Linked DNA regions of Homo sapiens: all the other regions are linked to region 1. The links are contacts of gene promoters, found by promoter capture Hi-C in blood cells and fetal thymus (Javierre and others, 2016). All regions are on one chromosome and are shown on one strand. The core of a region is centred on a gene start or on the middle of the fragment in contact, and the rest is flanking DNA. Distances in the headings are between cores, read along the strand shown. Region 1 holds the start of TSR1 (TSR1 ribosome maturation factor). Region 2 overlaps RPA1 (replication protein A1). Region 3 overlaps RPA1 (replication protein A1). Region 4 has its middle 83 kb from the start of RPA1. Region 5 overlaps PAFAH1B1 (platelet activating factor acetylhydrolase 1b regulatory subunit 1).

What was found. The method cuts DNA at HindIII sites, captures the fragments that hold promoters and counts their contacts. A CHiCAGO score of 5 or more calls a contact.
Region 2: a contact is called between a fragment that was not itself captured here and the fragment with the promoter of TSR1 in region 1, in 1 of 17 cell types (M2 macrophages). The highest score is 5.6, in M2 macrophages.
Region 3: a fragment that was not itself captured here is called in contact with the fragment with the promoter of TSR1 in region 1 in 3 of 17 cell types (endothelial precursors, activated CD4 T cells and M2 macrophages); the score reaches 8.3 in endothelial precursors.
Region 4: a fragment that was not itself captured here is called in contact with the fragment with the promoter of TSR1 in region 1 in 1 of 17 cell types (endothelial precursors); the score reaches 6.9 in endothelial precursors.
Region 5: a fragment that was not itself captured here is called in contact with the fragment with the promoter of TSR1 in region 1 in 1 of 17 cell types (erythroblasts); the score reaches 5.1 in erythroblasts.

The regions. Positions count from the first base shown.
Region 1 is chr17:2,335,111-2,337,838 of GRCh38, reverse strand. It overlaps TSR1 (TSR1 ribosome maturation factor), which reads left to right and starts at 1,382. Exons shown (of 15, transcript NM_018128.5): 1 at 1,382-1,508; 2 at 1,699-1,802; 3 at 2,109-2,328; 4 at 2,445-2,579. The coding sequence starts at 1,412. SGSM2 (small G protein signaling modulator 2) reads right to left here and starts at 338. Exons shown (of 24, transcript NM_014853.3): 1 at 94-338. The coding sequence starts at 150. RefSeq lists silencers at 1-94, 195-304, 405-714, 745-874 and an enhancer at 1,105-1,214. The HindIII fragment of the contact is 5,731 bases long and covers 1-2,728 here.
Region 2 is chr17:1,859,423-1,862,150 of GRCh38, reverse strand. The region is part of intron 5 of RPA1 (replication protein A1); the gene reads right to left. Among named protein-coding and RNA genes, the nearest start is that of RPA1, 31 kb to the right of the region's middle. The HindIII fragment of the contact is 481 bases long and covers 1,101-1,581 here.
Region 3 is chr17:1,881,366-1,884,093 of GRCh38, reverse strand. RPA1 (replication protein A1) reads right to left here. Exons shown (of 17, transcript NM_002945.5): 13 at 150-282. Among named protein-coding and RNA genes, the nearest start is that of RPA1, 53 kb to the right of the region's middle. RefSeq lists a silencer at 1,023-1,072. The HindIII fragment of the contact is 2,906 bases long and covers 1-2,728 here.
Region 4 is chr17:1,912,093-1,914,820 of GRCh38, reverse strand. No RefSeq gene overlaps it. Among named protein-coding and RNA genes, the nearest start is that of RPA1, 83 kb to the right of the region's middle. The HindIII fragment of the contact is 6,793 bases long and covers 1-2,728 here.
Region 5 is chr17:2,667,532-2,670,259 of GRCh38, reverse strand. PAFAH1B1 (platelet activating factor acetylhydrolase 1b regulatory subunit 1) reads right to left here. Exons shown (of 11, transcript NM_000430.4): 6 at 1-97. Among named protein-coding and RNA genes, the nearest start is that of MIR6776, 24 kb to the left of the region's middle. The HindIII fragment of the contact is 2,481 bases long and covers 10-2,490 here.

The DNA of each region.
Region 1 (2,728 bases), core at 133-2,632:
GTGCCCGCGCCGGGGGGTGGGCGCGGACCTTTCTGCCCCCTGGGCCGCGCGGGCCAGGGCGCGAGCCCCCCGGGGTTCTTGACTCGACTTTACCTCCTTCTTCACGTTCCACAGCAGTTTCTCTTTGACTGCGTCCTCTGCGCTGCCCATGGTGTGGCAGGAGGCGGCGCCGAGCGGTCCTCAGAGCCCCCGCGCCCTCGCCGCCTCCGCGCCTCTCGGCTCAGCGCCCCACGCGCAAGGCGGAGCCCCCGCCCGCCGCGCTCCCGGCCCGCCGCCGCCGCCGCCGCCGCAGCCACTGCCCGGTGCTCGGCTCCGCAGCCATCTTCCGAGCCCCGCACAGACGTCAGGCGGCAGGCCCGGCCCCTTCCCACAGCCGGAGGGGGGTTGCGCACAGCGACGGGGGATCGGGGCGGGGAGAGGCCGTGCGCGCCTAGGGGCGGCAGACCCGGGCGCGCGCCACGGGGGTCGCTGTCATGGCAACGCACCCGCTCCCGCATGGAGGGCGCGAAGCCGCATTGTGAGCGCTGGCCCTGGAGCCCGCGGCCCCGCGGCTGAGAGCGAGCCTCGGTCCCGCTGAAGCTCCCCTGACTTCTGCCTGCTCCCTCTCCCGACGGGACGGAAAGGGCCGGGGCTCGGGCATGGGGTCCCCTGCGGTCCGAGCCTGCCCACGGCGAAGCCGGTGCAGCCTGGCCCCGTGACCCCTCTGAATCCCCGTCCGGCCGTCGCCGTGCAGTTGTCAAGTTTCTGGGAAGATTAGTGGGAGCGCAGCCGCCCGAGCCCGACGGCCGGAGGGTCGCGGCCAGTCCCCCTTGCCGGGTCGCCACGTCCCACAAGGTCCTTCCCGGCCGCTCCGTGGGAGGCGGGGCGCAGGTTGGAGTAACAGGGACGGGCTTGAGCTGGTACGGAACCGGGCAAGGTGAGAGAAGTGTCTTCCACGCGATTCCCAAGCCTCGCTAGGGAATCGAGGGAGAAGAAAGGTTGCTCAGAGTGATAAAGAACATGCCGTTGCAAACGGAAGAGCAACGTGCCCGAATCTAGGTGACAGGAAGGGCTTAGGCCTTTTCGGCACGAATGGAGCCTTCCAGTCAACATGCTTCTACGTGATGCAGCTTTATAGCGCAAAAAAATGACAATGCAAGGGGTACAAACAGCCCTGCTAGACCAACAGCCCGAGCCTCGACAGTCTACATCCGGCGCCTTCAAGCCCCCAACCACACACTGCGAAGTGGGAAAAGTTCCCAGCGCGGCTTGGCGAACCCGCTAACACGGCGCTCTCACGAGCTGCTGGAAAAGACCTTCGCGAGAGGGCGCAGGGAGTCCCGCTCCCTGGAGGGCCCGCCCCCTTGGAGGGGACCGGAAGCGCTTGTCCTGGCCCGGAAGCAGTGCTGACTCCGTACACGCGCGCTGCGGCATGGCGGCCCACCGCCCCGGCCCGCTCAAGCAGCAGAATAAAGCTCATAAAGGCGGACGGCATCGGGGTCGGGGATCTGCACAGCGGGACGGCAAGGGTAAGGAGATAACGTAGAAGGAATAAGGGCTATTTGGCCGTTATTAACTCTTTTTCCTCATGCCCAGACTGAGCTTCTGTCTCCCGTCTGGGCTCCACGCGAAAGGCCCTTTCTAAGGTGGGCGGAGAGGAGTCCCTTTTCTTGACCTTGTGGGGCCGATCACACCAGCCCCTTCTAATCTGCCATTCAGGCCGTCTGGCACTGAAAACCCTAAGCAAGAAGGTGAGAAAAGAACTCAGCAGAGTCGACCAGAGGCATCGCGCCAGCCAGCTCCGAAAGCAGAAGAAGGAGGCGGTGAGAGGAGCGGGATTTGGGAGAATGCGGCTTCTCTGGTGTTCTAGGTGGCTAATGCCTCGAAGTGGAAAATGAGACCGGGAGGAGGGTCCAGGGACAGAGCATAGCCCTAGAGCACGTGTCGAGCGTGCAGGTCTAGCATTCTTTGCTTTGGTCAGAATTCCTGCCACCCCGCTGGCATACCTGTGGTCTTTTACTAGAGAGATGCTGGTTTTGGGTAGGGGGAGCATCTGTGGGAGTGGAAATGCAATGCTGGAGTGAAGTACTGAGACACTGAGATGTTCTCGGATATCTTTCTATTTTCAGGTTCTGGCAGAGAAGAGACAGCTGGGTGGCAAGGATGGCCCTCCTCATCAGGTACTGGTGGTGCCCCTGCACAGCAGAATTTCCCTGCCAGAGGCCATGCAGCTGCTTCAAGATAGGGACACTGGAACAGTACACTTGAATGAATTGGGAAACACCCAGAACTTTATGCTGCTGTGCCCCCGCTTGAAACATCGGTGGTTTTTCACCTCAGCAAGGCCAGGTTAGAGTATACACCAATATTTTGTATTATGTTTGAGTAGTGGTATTTTTTTTTTTTTTTTTTAGAATAATGTGCTGGTGCCAACCACCTCTTCTTACTGTGTCTTCTATCTGCAGGGGATCTGCACGTTGTGTTAGACATGGCTAAAGTAGCTGATACCATCCTGTTCCTCCTTGATCCACTAGAAGGCTGGGACAGCACCGGTGATTACTGTCTTTCCTGCCTCTTTGCTCAGGGCCTTCCGACCTATAGTAAGTGAGTTAGCATTTATTGTGCACCTTTAATTTGTCAGGCACTATGCCTGGTATTTGATACAGGAATACAACTGATGGATCATATTCAGCTGGTGGTGGGATGTACACATATGGATTAAACTTGATCCATTGTTTACAGATTATCA
Region 2 (2,728 bases), core at 92-2,591, 480 kb after region 1:
GGAGGCTGAGGCGGGCAGATCACGAGGTCAGGAGATGGAGACCATCCTGGCTAACACAGTGAAACCCCGTCTCTACTGAAAATACAAAAAAAATCACCCGGGCATGGTGGTGGGTGCCTGTAGTCCCAGCTACTCAAGCAGGAGAATGGCGTGAATCCGGGAGGTGGAGCTTGCAGTCAACCGAGACCGCGCCACTGCACTCCAGCCTGGGCGACACAGTGAGACTCCGTCTCAAAAAATAAAAAAATAAAAACAAAAATTAGCAGGGTGCAGTGGTGCACGCCTGTAATCCCAGCTACTGAGGAGGCTGAGGCAAGGAGGATTGCTTGAGTCCAGGAGGCGGAGGTTGCAGTGAGCCAAGATCACGCCACTGGACTCCAGCCTGGGTGACAGTGTGAGACTCTTAAAAAAGAAAAAAAAAAAAGAGAGAGCACCACATTCTAATCTCCCATAGCGTGAAGTTAATAAACAAATGTTTCAACTGAAAAAATTAACGAAGAGCAGCACAAATGTGTTATTTAGAAATATGGAGACAAACAGAGAAGAAACAGCTGTGAGATTTGAAACAGACTGTCTCTAGACAGGAGTCAGAGGCCAAAGAAAAGTGAGGCAGGAGAATGCTGTTTTGTTTTTAAGGACACACCTCGCAAAAATATTCAACTTTTAAAACTACGTACCGGACAAATGGAGCAACAGAGACCAGGTTCACCCTAACACCTAACATAACCCCCTCCCCCCACCAGAAAGGGAGAAAATACGTGAGACGCATGGTTTTCAATGAGGGGTAGCGCCTGCTGTGCACAGGAAAGCGAGCGAGTGGGTCTGCACCAGCTCAGTGCCTCAAGGGCTTAGGGGGCCTGCCAGAACCCGAGGTGCAGAAATGGGGGCCGAGAGTCTGGGGAGATCGCCGTCTAGCTGGCCGGACAGAGTAGCAGAGAAGAGAGGGCTGTACACAGAGAACTCCAGAAATGGGTGGCAGGTTTCCTGGGTAGTCAGCAGAGTCCTGGTTGGCCCGTGTGTGTGTGTGGACACGATCTGAGGCCAGGGTGAGAATCATCTGAGAAGGCCAGAGGGAACCATGCCTGTGTTTACAGCAAGCTTGAAATAGTACCTGTTTCTACCAGTCAGATGGGAAAAATTCATATTCATGGGGCACGAGGTAGAACAGTCTGTCAGGTCTCGATTCAGTATTGGGAATAACTACACCTAGACTAAATGCAGCTCTCTGATTCTCTAATAAATCTTAAAAGCAACACACCAAAAGATCAAACTGTCTCCAAGTTAACTGTATCCCTGAAAAAAGCTCAAGAATAATTACAGGATTACAAAAGTTTCTAGCACCCAACGAGGTACGAATCCCAATGTCTGGCATTCGGTCCGAGGGCCAGGCATGAAAAGCAGCAGGAAAATATGATCCATGATCGGAGAGGCCGGGATCAACTGACGGAAACAAATCCGGACCTAACACAGACACCAGAATCCACAGACAAGGACCTTACAACAAATACTGTCATTGTGCTCTGTATGTCCCAAAAATTAAGCAGAGATGTAGATGAGTTTTTAAAGACCCAAAATCAAGCTTCTAGGGATAAAAACTATACTATCTGAGAAGAAAAATACACTCAATGGGATTAACAGCAGATTAGGCACTGCCTGAGAAACCATTAGTGAACTTGAACGGCTAGCAATAGAAAGTATACACAATGGCCAGGCACAGTAGCTTATGCCTGTAATTCAGCCTTTTGAGAGGCTAAGGCAGGAGGATTGAGGCCAGGAGTTTGAGACCAGCCTGGGCAACAAAGTGAGACCCCGCCCCTACAAATAAAAAGAAAAGAAATGAGCCGGGCGTGGTGGCACTGCCGTCCCAGCCCCAGTCCAGGCAGTCCACAGGCAGGCCCGGCACTCCACCTCCCAGACTACAGGTGCAGCCTGCAGTCCCAACTACTTGGGAGGCTGAGGCAGGAGGATTGCTGGAGGCCAGGAATTCAAGACCAGTGTGGGCAACATGGCAGGACTCCATGTCCACAAAAAATAAAATTAGGCCAATTATGGTGGCTCACGCCTTTAACCCCAGCACTTTGGGAGGCTGAGGCGGGCAGATCATGACGTCAAGAGATGGAGACCATCCTGGCCAACATGGTGAAACCCTATCTCTACTAAAAATACAAAAATCAGCTGAGCATGGTGATGCGTGCCTGTAGCCCTAGCTACTCAGGAGGCTGAGGCAGGAGAATCGCTTGAACCTGGGAGGCGGAGGTTGCAGTGAGCCGAGATCACGCCACTGCACTCCAGCCTGGCAACAGAGTGAGACTTCGTCTCAAAAATAAATAAATAAATAAAAAACAAAATAAAATTAGCTGGGCGTGGTGGCACATGCCTGTAGTCCCAGCTACTCAGGAGGCGGAGGTGGGAGGATTGCTTGAGCCCAAGGTGTTGAGGCTGCACTGAGCCGTGAATGTACCACTGTACTCCAGCCTGGGCAACAGAGCAAGATGTTGTCTCTAGGAGAGAAAAAACAAAACAAAACAAAAAAAACGCCAAAGTGGCTATGCTAATATCAAAGCAGACTTCAAAGCACAGAATTTCCCAGGGATAAAATCATTTCATAATAATAAGAGTCAACTCATCAAGTGGACACAAGAATTCTAAATTATATAGATATTTAATAATACAGCTTTGAAATACATGAAGCAAAAACTAATAGAACTGCAGAGAGACAGAGAAACTT
Region 3 (2,728 bases), core at 78-2,577, 450 kb after region 1:
CAGTGATTCTCAACCCCCATGCCACGCTCAGGTCACAGCCCCGGGTAAGAATTACGGCTCTGACAGCTGGTGCTGGAAACCAAGTTTCTAAATCCATCCTTCTGCACACTTTACAGCCCTTTGTGAAGGTGGTTAGGAATGCTGGGTACCTTGTCGCCTTGGCCCAGGTTCTCGGATTTGACCTCATACAAGGTTTTCCAGTTGGTGTTACTCCCTCCGACTCCGCCGCTCTTTAGATCAGAGATGGAAACACCATCTAAGGCTTGTCCTTCTGCGTCAAACCTGAAAACGTGAACGAATAACGATGACGAGCGCTTGATGTGACATGCTTCTGCTTCTCCACATGCAACTTGCTGCTACGCGACAGACACAGGTTTCCCACCACCCGCCCAGCTTTCACACAGGTCACGGTCATGTCGGCTGAAGCTGGTATCTTCGTAATTATATATTTTTTATAATATTTAAATTAAAAAAAATTGTGTCAGAGTTTCACTCTGTCACCCAGGCTGGAGTGCAATGATGCAATCATGGCTCAAGGCAGCTTTGACCCCCTGAGCTCAGTGATCCTCCCACCTTTGCCCTGCTAAGTAACTGGGACTTCCATGCCCAGGCCCATTAAAAAAATTTTTTTTAGGCTGGGCGCAGTGGCTCATGCCTGTAACCCCAGCATTTTGGGAGGATGAGGCGGGCGGATCACGAGGTCAAGAGATCAAGACTATCCTGGCCAACATGGTGAAACCCCGTCTCTACTAAAAATACAAAATTAGCCGGGCGTGGTGGTGGGTGCCTGTAATCCCAGCTACTCGGGAGGCTGAGGCAGGAGAATCACTTGTAGGCAATTCTCAGGAGGCGGAGGTTGCAGTGAGCCGAGATGGCGCCATTGCACTCCAGCCTGGGCAACAAGACCGAAACTCCGTCTCGAAAAAAAAATTTTTTTAAGAGATGGGGTCTTGCTCTGTTGGCCAGGCTGATCTCAAACTCCTGGACTCAGACAATCCTCCTCCCTCGGCCTCCCAAAGTGCTGGGATTACAGGGCGTGAGGCACTGCTCCTGGCCCAAAGTCTACTGAAGAAACGGAATGACCTTTCTTTGAATCTCAGTTGCTTTGATGCCCCCCAGTGGTGAAGAGAATCAGTGCCAAAGTACCAAAGAATCTTTTCTTAAACTAGCCTTGCATATTGGCAGTGGCCAGACCACCCCAGGCCTAAAATCAGAAACTGGGAAAGTCAACAACCCGTAAGCTATAAAGTGGCCGTCTGGGGTAGTCCTTTAATCTGCTAATGCTCATTCTCAGGCAGCAGCTGCGTGGTGATCATCACCGAAATGTACCAGTGTGGAAACGGACAGCCAATATACCGTGGTAGCAAAAGTGTTTCCATAAAAGGCCTCCTATGCCTGATACAGAAGCCAAAAGTGGTTTTTTTGTTTTGAGACAGAGTCTTGCTTTGTCACCCAGGATGGAGTGTGGTGGTACCAACTTGGCTCGCTGCAACCTCCACCTCCTGGCAAGTGATTCTCGTGCCTCAGCCTCCCGAGTAGCTGGGACTACAGGCACGCACCGAGTAGCTGGGACTACAGGCCCGGCTGATTTTTGTATTTTTTGTAGAGACGAGGTTTCACCATGTTGGCCAGGCTGGTCTTGAACTCCTGGCCTCAAGCAATTGTCCACCTCGGCCTCCCAAAGTGCTGGAATTAAGGTATGAGCCACCGTGCCTGGCCCAAAAGATTTTATAAACCAGAGCAACTTATCAGAAGGCATTATCTTTTTTCTTGTAGATTTACCTTCTTAGTGAAATTTTACTTTTGCTAATATCGAAGCTAAATTAATTTGTATTAAATTATTATGAAAACTGATTGTACTTCTTGATCACACATCAATTGATATGAAGGAAAAGGGGCCAAGGAGAAAGTGGCTCGGGAACACAGTGGTGGCGGAGAGGAGCTGGCCGGAGATGAAAGGCCAAATACCATCCCAAGGTGGGTAACCACACAAAGAACAGGTTCCTTAAACAGAGACCATCTAACAGAATGGATGTTACCCTGAGCTGCAGACAGCTGCCTTCTCCTGTCAGGTAAGCGGCTAAATCCCTCACAGGGGCACAGCAAGGCCCATCCATCTGTTTCACCACTACTAGCTACACAAGTTCACGGTTTCAAAAGCTCCAAGGAGACATTTGCCACCAAAGATCACTCGTCAGGAGTCAAGGCGGCCCTTCTTACAATAAAAACTCTGCATTGTTATAGCCAAGATCTAAACATCTCTAATCCTTGTCCAGGTATCATGTATGCACTGAGCTTGTCTTTGATCAATGCCAAGTTATTTTATTCTGGGGACAGCCGTGCTTTTTATGTTGACTGGGATCATGATTATTGACAAGTAAAAGATGAAGACATTAATGTGGGAATGCAATTTTAATGTGGGAATGCGATTTTAATGTGGGAATGCAATTAACCTGGAGTCGAACTCCAGAGCCTAAAAGAAAATCAAGCAATAAGAAAAAAGCAAATCTGTGGCTAGTTCTGGTCAGACTATGAACGGGCCCTGCAGTTCGGCAGATACGTGTGGACCGTACTACTCATGAGGATGGCTCAGTGACATGAACATTCCAGAAGATGCTTCATGAAACTGGTCAAACACCAGTGCCATTGGTTTAAATGACTCAAAACAAAGGAGGAGTATGTAAAATGAGCTCATTCTTTAGCTGCTTAAATCCTAAGACACAGCTGG
Region 4 (2,728 bases), core at 157-2,656, 420 kb after region 1:
CCCACGAGAACTCACTGCTGATGACAATGGGTACTTGGCCGCTGCCATTTCAGAGTCAGAGGCTGACGGGAGGAGAGGAAACAGCTGGGTCCAGGTCAAAACAGATCAAATTTATGGCTGGTGGAATGTGGCTGAAAGCTATTTACTGCATGCTTGGTGCCACTATTTTCTTTCTTTCTTTTTTTTTTTTTTTGAGACGGAGTCTCGCTCTGTCCCCCAGGCTGCAGTGCAGTGCTGCGATCTCGGCTCACTGCAAGCTCCGCCTCCCGGGTTCACGCCATTCTCCTGCCTCAGCCTCCCGAGTAGCTGGGACTACAGGCGCCCACCACCACGCCTGGCTAATTTTTTGTATTTTTAGTAGAGATGGGGTTTCACAGTTTTAGCCAGGATGGTCTCGATCTCCTGACCTTGTGATCCGCCCGCCTCGGTCTCCCAAAGTGCTGGGATTACAGGCATGAGCCACTGCGCCCAGCCGGTGCCACTATTTTCAAAAGGTGATTTTTGAAAAGGTTGTTCTTCCAGTTGCTGATGTGCCTTTTGTGTGTGTCTGTGTGTGTGTGTGTGTGTGTGTGTGTGTGTGTGTGTGTGATGGGAGCCTGTGCCCAGGGCCCCGTGCTCCTCGGAGCTGGATCAGATGCCGATAAGTGATAAGAACCCCAGTCACTAAGGGTGCAGCCATACCTGACGCAGAAGAAGGCACTGGGGGGTGAAGGAAGGCGAGCTGGGCCGTGAGGATTCGAACCCGACAGCCCCGGAGTGAGGGATCCCAGTTACGAATGAATACAATGGAAACCTGAGTGAACCCACGGCTTCTCCACTGACCCAGCCGAAAGGACACAGGGTAATTCAAGATGACAGACACAATAGGCTGCCTGTGTTCCCGGGGCTGCCGAAACAGACGACCGCAAACTGGGTGGCTGGAAACAAGAGAAACTCATTCTCTCCAGCTCTGGAGGCCAGAAGTCTCAAATCAAGGTGTTGGCCAGTTCGTTCCTTCTGGAGGCTCTCGGGGAGAATCTGTTCCATGCCTTTCTTTTTTTCTTGTCTTTTTTTTTTTTTGAGATAGGGTCTCACTCTGTCACCCAGGCTAGTGTGCCGTGGCATAATCATGGCTCTGGAGGCTCTGCCTCCTGGGGCTCAAGCCATCCTCCCTCCCCAGCCTCCCTCCTGAGTAGCTGGGACTACAGGCATGTGACACCACGGCTACATTTTTTTTTTTTTTCAGAGCTGGGGTCTCGCCGTGTTGTCCAGGCTGTGTTCTGTGCCTTTCTCTTGGCCTCTGGTGGCTGCACACAGTCTTTGTTGTTCCTGGGTTTGTAGGAATACCCCTCCAGCCTCTCTGCCTGTCTTCACGTCCCCTTCTCTGAGCGTCCTGTCTCCTTCTTCTGTTGTCCTAGAAGGATGCTTGTCATTGGATTTAGGGCCCACCCTAGCCAGGATGACCTCGTCCTGCAGTCCTTAACATAAACACATCGACAAGGACCCTTTTTCCCATCAAGGTTTCATTCACTGTTTCCAGGTGGACGTATCTTGTGGGTAGCCACCGTTCAACCTACTGTGATAGCCACAGTGACCCAGAGAACTGCTCCCAGGACAAAGCCTTCTCTCTCAGCCCCCACTGGATCCTGTGCTGTGAATGGGAACTTCCCGGCCACCCCTTGGGTTACCATAATTTTGGTTTTTTGTTTGTTTGTTTTATTTTCTTGAGACAGAGTCTCGCTCTGTTGCCCAGGCTGGAGTGCAATGGTGTGATCTCGGCTCACCGTAACCTCCGCCTCCCGGGTTCAAGCAATTCTCCTGCGTCAGCCTCCCGAGTAGCTGGGATTACAGGCGCCCACCACCACGCCCACCTAATTTTTGTATTTTTAGTAGAGACGGGGTTTCGCCATGCTGGCCAGGCTGGTCTCGAACTCCTGACCTCAAGTGATCCGCCCGCCTCAGCCTCCCAACGTGCTGCGATTACAGGCGTGAGCCACTGTGCCTAGCCGAGTAACTGTAATTTTGGATCCATAACAAAGCCACAGGGGCATTGGACCTTTCCCAAAGACAGGCCACACCTGCCTAAACCATGTCCCTGTCTCAGAGGGTCACTCAGCCCTGAGTCCCTTCTCGTTGAGGCGGTTTCTAAAGTGGGAGACCACAGCAGAGCATCTTGCCCACAAGGCACCCTCAGGGAGGAACGGAGCCAAAAGGGAAGTCTGAGCCAAGCACGGGAACCAGGGATGCTCCTCCTCACGTGTCCTCACCGGAAGCTCGCAGTCGCCAGGGCCAAGCACAGGGCTCTGCTCCTACAGGGGGCTTTGCAGACGTTTACCAGCCTTTTTTTACCAGCTCATTCTCCTCTGAAGCAACCTATTATGTCGCAGGTTGCTTCTGATCATTAGAAAGCACTTTTTTTGGTTGAGTCAAAACCAACCTGCTTGCAATGCTGTTCACCCACTGTCCCAAAGTTGCCTTCAGGAGCTCTAAGAAATGACGGTCACCACCAGACTCCAGACGCTGCCTCATGCTAATCACCTGAAGGCATGAAAACATCCCCCCAGAGGTCCCAGGGCGCCAGCAGCTGGGCCAGACTGACCAAAGGAATTTCCATTTTTCCTTGAGCGTGGATAGCAACCATCACTGCATTTTAAAAAACATAGCCCACGTCTCCCAGAATTAGCTGCATAAAAGAAAAAAAAAAAGGTTAGCCCACGATACGCTAGGTGTTTTATGTATGATATTTCTA
Region 5 (2,728 bases), core at 1-2,500, 330 kb before region 1:
CCAGAAGCTTGCCGCTGTGGTCGAATGAAATGTCCTGTACAGAGTCTGTATGTCCTTTAAGAGTTCGTTCAAAATCTCCAGTCTCATAATCCCACACCTGTCAAGTGAACAGAAAATTGGTTAACACCAACTCCATCACTCCTTTCTTGTTTCACATTTGCACTCAGCAGGCCAGTCTGGCACCTTACTGAGTAACTAACCGAACAAGTAACAAAGGATAACTATTTTAGAAATATTGTATCTCATGTATAAATTGGTCTTTTTTTCTACAGGGAAAACTAATGTTGCAATTATTAAAATCTATCTCTAGAACCACATTTATAAGGTTTCTATCACATAACCAACTGTAATAGTGATAAGGTATATAAAGTCACAAGACATAGTCCGCTCCCTGTCTCAGAGCAGGAATGACATGTAAATAAGGAAACTTAAGGGGAAGAAATAAGAGGAAAGAAAGAGAAAGAGATGGAAAGGAAAGGGAAAGAAAGGGGAAAGGGAAGGGGAAGGGAAGGAGCTTCAGAGGGCTATAGCAGGCATTTGTATGTAGAATATTTGAGGAACAATGGATGAATACTCGATCCTACTAGACCATCAGAACTCAGACATCTAAAGGGCCAAGGAAAGATTTCAGAAGATGTTAACTGTTCACGAATAGCAAATGAACAAGAGCATATGTCATTTTGAGTTAAAAAATGAAATATGGCCGGGCGCAGTGGCTCACGCCTGTAATCCCAGCACTTAGGAAGGCCAAGGCGGGCGGACCACGAGGTCAGTTCGAGACTATCCTGGCTAATATGGTGAAACCCCGTCTCTACTAAAAAACACAAAAAATTAGCCAGGCACAGTGGTGGGCGCCTGTACTCCCGGCTACTCGGGAGGCTGAGGCAGAATTGCTTGAACCTGGGAGGCGGAGGCTGCAGTGAGCCAAGATCATACCACTGCACTCCAGCCTGGGTAACAAGAGTGAAACTCCATCTCAAAAAAAAAAAAAAAATTCTAATTGCTGGCTAAATCACTATTATAGAAAACATTATAGTGAACATTTTTTAATATAAAAAAATTCTGTCCTCATTTTATAATACCTAGGTCAGACAGTAATGGGGAGAAACAATTAGTGGGTCAAAAAGTATAAACTTTTAAAGCCTTCATATACTCTATTAAATTGATATCCCGTAAGACTGTATCATATGTAATGAGAATGACTACTTTATCAAAATCTTATCATCACTGGGAATTCTTATTTAATAGGTAAAATACCTTGACAATTTGACACACATATATATGTATGTGTGTCTCACTCTTGTCGCCCAGGCTGGAGTGCAGTGGCGCGATCTTGGCTCACTGCAAGCTCCGCCTCCCGGGTTCACGCCATTCTCCTGACTCAGCCTCCCGAGTAGCTGGGACTACAGGAGCCCGCCATCACTCCCGGCTAATTTTTTGTATTTTTTAGTAGAGACGGGGTTTCACCATGTTAGCCAGGATGGTCTCGATCTCCTGACCTCATGATCCACCCACCTTGGCCTCCCAAAGTGCTGGGATTACAGGCATGAGCTACCGTGCCCAGTCCAATTTTTTTGTTTTTAAGACAGGGTCTCACTCTTCGCCCAGGCTGGAGTACACTGGCTCAATCATAGCTCACTGCAGCCTCCAACTCCCAGGCTCATGTGATCCTCCCATCTCAGCCTCCTGAGTAGCTAGGACTACAGGCATGCACCACCATACCTGGCTAATTTTAAGTAGAGACGAGGTCTTGCTATGTTGCCCAGGCTGCTCTCTAACTCCTGAGCTCAAGCAGTCCTCCCACCTTGGCCTCCCAAAGTCCTAGGACTATAGGCATGAGCTACCACACCCGGCCCATAATTTCAGTGTTTATTTCTTCTGCTGTTAGTAGTAAGGCCAAACCGTCGTTACTATTTGGTTAGTTGTAACTACCTTTTTGAGACAGTCTCGCTCTGTCGCCCAGGCTGGAGTGCAGTGGAGCGATCTTGGCTAACTGCAACCTGTCTCCTGGGTTCAAGCGAATTTCCTGCCTCAGCCTTCCAAGTAGCTGGGACTACAGGCGCACGCTGCCATGCCCAGCTAATTTTTTTGTATTTTAGTAGAGATGGGGTTTCTCCGTGTTGCTCAGGCTGGTCTTGAACTCCTGAGCTCAGGCAATCCACCCGCCTCGGCCTCCCAAAGTGCTGGGATTACAGGCGTGAGCCACCGTGCCCGGCCGATTGGTTATACTTTTGTAAATGAAACTTAATATCTGTAACTTACTTTGAAATAACCCTTAGGATAGAGGCATCTACCTAAATCTACCTATATTGCAACTATCTTATCTTTCTGTAGGTGGTTTATACAACGGTCATTTTATTGTGTCCGGAACAAAGGCAACTTAAAAACAACTCTTTTCCTAATTAAAAAAGCACAACATTAAAAGGTAATAATATTTTTACTGTGAAAAAAATTTTTTAATGAAATACGTAATTTATAAAATGAAAAGCTTGTATATTCCCACACTCCTGGAAAGCCAATTTTAAATACATCAAGGAAAGCCCAATTTAAATGAATCCTCTACTGAATTCTTTTGCAGTATAGATTCACCCTATCAATTACTAGTTTTGTCAATCAGTATTTCACACATAACCTCCGTTTAAAGGTAAGACACACACTTTTCATTCTCCAAGAACAAAAATTGTTCAAGCACAAGGTGATGTACTGACATCAACTCAGTTAGTGACAC